Linked DNA regions of Homo sapiens: region 1 is linked to region 2. The links are contacts of gene promoters, found by promoter capture Hi-C in blood cells and fetal thymus (Javierre and others, 2016). All regions are on one chromosome and are shown on one strand. Each heading gives the region's core, a stretch centred on a gene start or on the middle of the fragment in contact. The rest is flanking DNA. Distances are from core to core; before and after follow the strand shown.

Region 1 (3,600 bases), core at 1,023-3,522, 240 kb before region 2:
AGGTTGTCCCCTGCCACTATGGACTCTCACTGAACAGTCCTGCACCATAGTGTGAATACTGGAAATGATGGTTTTCATGAAGTATTTCTCAAATGAACTCATCCCTTCCCTGTCTGGTGCCAACAGCCTGATCTATCTATTGTCTTCTGGAAACCCAGTGACTCCCATGGAACTCAGGCCCTTTGGTGGCTCGGAAGAGTCTCTCCAGCCAGCTGGAGGGAGTTGGCTGTTACTGTAAGTGTGCCATGAACTTTATACACCTGCAACAGGTCCTGGGCTTTGCTCTCCTGGTCACCTCTCTCAGAGTCTTTGTTTTCCTTGCAGTATTTTCTTACTTCCCCTGTCTCTGCCAACAGATTTGGCTCTTAGCTCATTTACTCTCATGATTCACTCTTCCTTGTATACTATTAACCTTGGCTTGCCAAGGCCCTCTGTGGTCCCCTTGTACCTTTATATCTCTCTGGGAAGCCTTCCAGTATCGGCTCCCACTCCTACCTCCTTGACTGTCTCCATGCCTCTCACCCCAAGTTCTGGAGAGTGAGATTTTGGATGGCCCAGCCCATTCTTCTCTGGAGACAGCTGTTTTGCTCGAGGCCATCTCAGAGGTCACTGTTCAGCTCATAGCCTCGTTATGCTTGATCATTTCTGGTAGGATGTGATGAGCCACAAATGCAAAAGTAGAGTTCAGTCATTATTTCCTGAATATCTTTTATGCCATCTTATACTGAGAGTGACTGCCTAAGGAAGATGTGGAGTAACGTCCTTAAATTTTTTTTTTCAGACGGAGTCTCACTCTGTCACCCAGGCTGGAGTGCAGTGGTACCAGCTCAGCTCACTGCAAGCTCTGCTTCCCAAGTTCACGCCACTCTCCTGCCTCAGCCTCCCGAGTAGCTGGAACTACAGGCGCCCACCACCACGCCCGGCTTATGTCTTGTATTTTTAGTAGAGACGGGGTTTCACTGTGTTAGCCAGGATGGTCTCGATCTCCTGACCTCGTGATGCACACGCCTCGGCCTCCCAAAATGCTGGGATTACAGGCGTGAGCCACCGCGCCCAGCCCTTAAATTCTGATAGGTGAGTTTTATTGTTGTTGTTTTTGAGTGTTATTTGCCAGTGTGCATGGATAGGTGAGTTTTTGGAAAGATACTGATTATGTTCGTTAAGTTCAGTCTGCATCCCTGGAAATGAAGTTAATACAATCGTTTACCTCTCAAATCAAGCCTGAACTCTTAAATCTGTGTTATAGCTGGCCACTCAGGGCCTTCTTACTTGCTTTTCTAGCCTTACCGAGTTGCCTTCCTCTTCGTGTGACCCCATGTTATAGATGTTTACCAGGCTTGAACTATTCAGTTTCTTCTTTGCTCATGGGGCTTCCCCTTATGTCCAAATTCTACATGCACTTCAAAGACCAGGTCAATCCCTGTTTTAGTTTCCTAGAGTTTCCACAATAAATCACCACTAAGGAGGTCAGAAGTCTGAAATCAAGGAGTAGTCAGGGCTGTGCTCCCTCGGAAGGCGCTAGGGGAGAGTCCTGCCCTGTCTCCTCTAGTTTCTGATGGCTCTAGGTCTGCCTTGGCTTGTGATTTCAGGACTCCAGTCTCTGCTTCTATCTTCACAGGGCCCTCTCTGTGTCTTGCCTTTTCTGTCTAAGGACACTTGTCAATGGATTTAGGTGCCACCCAGGTAATCCCGGTTGCTTTCATCTCAAGATCCTGAATTTCTTTTGCAAAGAACTTATTTCCAAATATGGTCACATTCACAGGTTGCAGGGTTTAGGACATGGACATATTGTTTCAGGGGCCACCATTTAACCCACTACAATCCTGAATCCCTTTGAAGACTGTGCCCTAGACCTTTCTCTCCTCCAAGCTCCCATGCCCTTTAAGTCTCTTAAGGCATTTTCAACATTCAGTTGCACAGTGTAGGTACTTTGGCCACTTGTGCTAAGAGTGTGGGTTACAGAGCTAGATGTCCTGGGTTCAAATCCCAGCTCCGCCACTTGCCAGCTGAATGATACTGGTCAAGTCACTTAACTCCTTTTCCCAGGACTGGGACACAGTGAGGCACCTAGGGCACAACATTTAAAGAGGCACTCACTCTCAGGGTCCTCTCACCACCCCACAAGTCAGATTTTCATAAGCTTCATTAAATTGTGTGCCTTGGGCCTCTCTTGACTTACCCTAATCCCTGCCCTGCCTCTTATCATGGTTTTCTAATCTGTAAAGTGGGGATCAGGACCTCTCTAATAGAGAATTTTAAGGATGAAATGAATAACACAAGTAAAAGATTAGCAGTAAGGGCTCAATAAATGATAGCTATGGTTTCTCTAACTAGACAGGCAACTCACAAAGAGCTGGTCTAATTCATCATCATATTCCCAATAACTTTAAATTGCAAAAACTTGGAAGCTTTTTGCAATTGCAAGATGTCCTTCCAAGATGATATCTATTTATCTACTTGTCCAACCAAGTAGACGAATAGGCGAATAAACTGTGGTACGTCCAGGCAATGGAATACTATTCAGCACTCAAAAGAAATGGGCAACTAAGTGTAAATAGCCATGGAGGAACCTTAAATCCATGTTACTAAGTGAAAGAAGCCAATTTGAAAAAGCTACATACTATATGATTTCAACATATGACATTCCTGAAAAGGCAAAACTTTGGAGACAGTAAAAAGATCAGTGGTTGCCAGGGCGTGCAGGGATGGAGGGACGACTAGGCAGAGCACAGAGGGTTTTGGAAACTGATCTGTATGATACTATCATGATGGGCACATGTCACCATACACTTGTCCAAACCCGTAGAATGTATAACAGCAAGAGCGAACCCTAACGTAAACCAGGGAGTTTGGGTGATAATGATGTGCCAATGTAGGCTCATTGATTGTAACAAATGTACCACTCTGGTGGGGGATGTTGCTAATAGGAGAGGCTGTGCCTGTGAAGGGGCAGGAAGCAGATGGCAATTCTCTGTACCTTCTGCTCAATTTTGCTGTGACCTAAAGCTACTCTACAAAATAAAGTCTATTTAAAAAATGCATGTTACATTGAAAATTGTAGGTGATTGATTATATTTGAGTGAATTAATGAACATTTGCTAAGATTGAGTCATGTGGTAATTGAGCTAGTAGTCTATAATCAGGCAAATAACCCAGGCTTTGAGTCCCTGGGGTCAAGAGTTCTTGAGTTGATTCATCTCCTTGTTCATGCACAGTGTTTAGAAGGTTTAGGTGAGGTGCTTTGGATAGAGGGAGTAGAGCCCAAGCCTCAGAACATTTCTGAGGTTGGTTTTCAAATTAGAACCATGAGGGAAAGGCTTGAAAGTGGGATGCGTGCACACTGGATGGATTTGTTCATGTTTGGATAGCAGCAGCTCAAATGTGCAAAGTGGCTTCGGTCCATGCTTGCTGGTCCCACCAGGAATGGAGGGCTCTTTCTTGGCTATGCACTTGTCAGCTCCCTGGGAAGGAGATTCTTTCCTGGAACATGGAGACTATCTGACATCTTGTCTGGAACTCCATGAAACTCTTGGCAGCACCTGGCCCAGCAGGGTGCACCCCAAAACACCACATTTATTTGATATTGGGATTGATATTTCT
Region 2 (3,766 bases), core at 1,203-3,702:
TGGGAGGGTGAGAGCCCCAGGGGCCCAGGCAGAGCCTGGTCTGCAGGTGGGGTGGCCGTGGGTGTGGAAGAAACAAAGAAAAACAGAAGGCAGAGGGCTCTCTCTCCATGGGTGAAATCTCCCACGACCACAGAGGATGAAGGAGAAAGAACAACAGACAGGAACAGAAGGAGGCGGGCAGATACATGAAGCAGGGGAGGGAGGAAAGCCCTGGAGGAATCAAACTCAAGTATGTGTAGAAGGAAGGACCCTCCAAATGCAGCAGAAAAAGGTGATTTATGCACTGAGCTAAACCAGAATAGCCAGGAGCCAAGGCCAAGGGAATGGGAGCGGCTGGGAATGGCGACATGTGGCAGAAGCCACAGAAGGGGGCTGTGAGCTCTGGAGGGGCCGGAAGGCAGGCAGCTCGTAGTGAAAGGATAGGGGTGAGAGCTAGGGAGAGCCACAGGGCCCATGAAGGCTGTCCCGTAGGTGCTGCTGCTCAGGCCCCTGCAGCAGAGACACCTTGCAGCCACCATCACCCCGCCGAAGGTGTGGAAGGGGGGATTGGAAAAGGGTGAAAGAGGCACTGACACAGGGATTATAAATGCACTGAAGCACACACCCCCTCAGCAAGGGTGGCACTCTCTCCACAGCACCCCCATGGGGATGAAGGAGATCCAGGGGCTCCCAGACTGCAGCCAGGTGTGTGGGAGCCACAGACCTCCAATGATGGACCCAGCAGACCTAGATAGAGGCTGCTGTCCACACACAGACCCTGAAAGAAAGGGAGATGAAGACAAGGATAACCAAGATCAGATTTTTCTCCGTCTCTCCCTCTCAGACACACACACACACACACACACACAAACACACTGGGAAATAAAGGGTGGCTTGTGTGTGTTTGAGGGTAGGGCAGAATGGAGGACTGGATTCCTCTTTTAGGGACCTGAAGAAAAGTTTCCCAAAGCCTGGGGAAAGGTCATACACAAGAAAGAGGAAGTGTGTGTGGCCCTCACTACCCTACTATCCCTCTCCCATGTGGCTGCCTCTGTGGAATCCACCACATTTGCAGAGGCCTGCAGGGGCATGGGTGTGAAGCCCTCTCAGCAGGAAACACACCTGCATTCACACCCACACACATGTCCAGAAGCCAGTGGGTCACAGGGATGGGTCAGACTTGGATGCAGGAGCCCCCATTCGAAGCCAGATTAACGGTCCTCTACAGGTCCTCCAAGGAGGCCCCAAGCCCTCCAGAGCTACACAGAGCACCTTTTCAGCTGGGACGGCATTGCCAGGATTGCGTAAAGAAAGAATGTACTTCCCACTGTGGCAGTGGTGGTTGCACCATGAATCCAGAGCCACCCTGCAAGGGCATTCCCAGGACTTCTGACCGAGACATGTAGACGCTAGCTCCCTGCTAAGCTCACACAACCACGGTGCTCCAGTCTTTGCAAGTGGACACCACAGAGAAACACCAAAGGGAGGGGGCTCCCCAGGGACTGGGTCCATTTCTCAGCTCAGCCCAGTAGGCAGGGCCTTAAGGACAATCCCAGCAGACCAAGAGCTCAGATCTGGGCCACGAGTCTTCTTAGGAATAGGGACACAGATCCTGAGCACATCTACCAGTCCCCACTCCAGCTTGAACCCCCCAGTCCCCACTGTCGGCAAGCACACCGCTCTCAACATATTCCACACACATGAGCCCGTCACAGTCCCAAGAGTACTACACTGTACACAGCACATGTACACACAGCACACGGTTCCCCATGCCACACACTGCGCTGACACACGTCCCAGGTCCCCCCTGTGCCGACGCATCTTCCCATCCGACAGAGGACCCATTTTAATGAACGCGGTACACACAGACACTGAAAAGTCCTGCTGTCCTCAGCCTACATACACACACAGCGCCCTGCAGTCCCGCACAGCCAGCACACCACACCGGCCTGGACACAAACTGTGCCCACACAGAGCTCCCGACCAGAACTCAGCGACTCCCGCCCCCGCCGTGCGGCCTGCGCTCCCGCCCCCCGCGTACTAAGCCGATCTCCACCTTGGACTTCCCGGCCCCCTCTTTTCCCCTCCAGCTCCTGTTCCCCAACAACCCCACCCCCGGGCTTCGGGAAACTTTTCTTCAGGTCCCTAAAAGGGGACACCTGGAGTTCCTCCGGTCCCGCCCTGTCCCCGGACACGCGCAAGCCGCCCTTTATTTCCCAGCCCAGCTCCCGCCAGACCCAGCGGGGAAAGGTCACCGTAGGCAGCCCCCTGCCTGCGCCCTGGGGGTGGTGATAATAACAGCTGTCACCGGGGGATGGTCGGGGGGAAGGGAGAGGTGTCGGCCCCGCGCCGAGCCGGGGGCGCAAGGTGGTCGCGGTGACGCGCCGGGGAAGCGCAGAGAAGCAGCGGCGGCGGCGGCTGCGCCTTCCGAGCCCGGGCGGCGGCCGAGGCACGCGGAGCTGTCCGTTCAGCACCACCGCGCCGCGCCCCGCGCAGGGCGGGCGCCCCGTCACACCCGCTCTGCTCCCGCCCCGGCTCACGGGGCGAATGCGGCGCGGGTTCCTGCCTCTCTGGGTGGGTGAGGGGCGCGCGGATCCGGAGAGGGGGCTCCGGGAGCGGCGGGACCACGCAGCCACCTGTGAGCCTTCGGCAGCTGCGGGCGGCGGCGGCGTACCCGGCCCGAGACGGGAGGAGACGCTCGGCGGCCCCCGCCCGCCGGCCCGCCGGGCGCACACACTCGCACCCGCGCACGCACCGCCAGCAGGCAGCGGCCACCGCCGCGATGCTCGCCCGCGGGTTGGGGAAGTTTCCCGCCGGCCTCGGCCGCGGGCACCCGTGCTCCCAGGTAAGCGCTTCCAGAACGCGCAGGGCGAGCCCGGGCAGCCCCGCTGGGTGAGGCGCAGCGCACGCGGCCCCGGGGCATAGCGCCAGGCCGGCAGGGAGACCTGGGCCGGGGACGCGGGGGCTGCAGGCGTGGGATCTGGACCCAGGGGAGGCCGGGCCGCCCCCCTCATTCCCGCGGCCCGGGTTTCCAGACTCCAGCGCATCCCCCCCACCCCACCAAAGCTACGCGCCCCCCGTGTCGGCCCGGCCCTGCCCGTGCGTATCTCAGCTCCGGTCCCGCCTGTCTGCGGCGAGCGGGCGGGGGCGTCTCCCGGGCCTGCCCATGGACAAGGTCAGCATGCAGCCCCCTGGGCGCTCAGAGCCGCGGGGACGCGACCCCGCACGCGCAAAGCGCCCACCGAGACCCCTGGGGTGGAGCTGTGCTAATAGAAACATACCCACCCCCAGCCTTTCCTGGGAGGGGATCAGACCCCTCAAACTCTTGCCCCAGCCCAGCCCTTCAGCACCCAAGACCCACCAGGAGGCCTGGGCCCGCCAGTAATGGGTAGGGAGAGGGGGCCCCGCCAGGGCGCACGGCGCTCTCGCCGACGCTGTTCCCTCCGCTTCCAGGTGTAGCGCCCCCGCGCGGCGCGGGCGGCCGGCGCCTCCAGCATGACCGGCCAGAGCCTGTGGGACGTGTCGGAGGCTAACGTCGAGGACGGGGAGATCCGCATCAATGTGGGCGGCTTCAAGAGGAGGCTGCGCTCGCACACGCTGCTGCGCTTCCCCGAGACGCGCCTGGGCCGCTTGCTGCTCTGCCACTCGCGCGAGGCCATTCTGGAGCTCTGCGATGACTACGACGACGTCCAGCGGGAGTTCTACTTCGACCGCAACCCTGAGCTCTTCCCCTACGTGCTGCATTTCTATCACACCGGCAAGCTTCACGTCATGGCTGAGCTATGTG

Evidence for each region. Contacts are between HindIII fragments. The CHiCAGO score rates a contact against its expected background, and 5 or more counts as called.
Region 1: a contact is called between a fragment that was not itself captured here and the fragment with the promoter of KCNS2 in region 2, in 1 of 17 cell types (M1 macrophages). The highest score is 5.3, in M1 macrophages.

The regions. Positions count from the first base shown.
Region 1 is chr8:98,185,267-98,188,866 of GRCh38, forward strand. The region is part of intron 2 of NIPAL2-AS1 (NIPAL2 antisense RNA 1); the gene reads left to right. Among named protein-coding and RNA genes, the nearest start is that of NIPAL2-AS1, 11 kb to the left of the region's middle. The HindIII fragment of the contact is 268 bases long and covers 2,139-2,406 here.
Region 2 is chr8:98,424,506-98,428,271 of GRCh38, forward strand. It overlaps KCNS2 (potassium voltage-gated channel modifier subfamily S member 2), which reads left to right and starts at 2,453. Exons shown (of 2, transcript NM_020697.4): 1 at 2,453-2,824; 2 at 3,433-3,766. The coding sequence starts at 3,475. It also overlaps a transcript of STK3 not described here. RefSeq lists a silencer at 2,353-2,552. The HindIII fragment of the contact is 15,366 bases long and covers 1-3,739 here.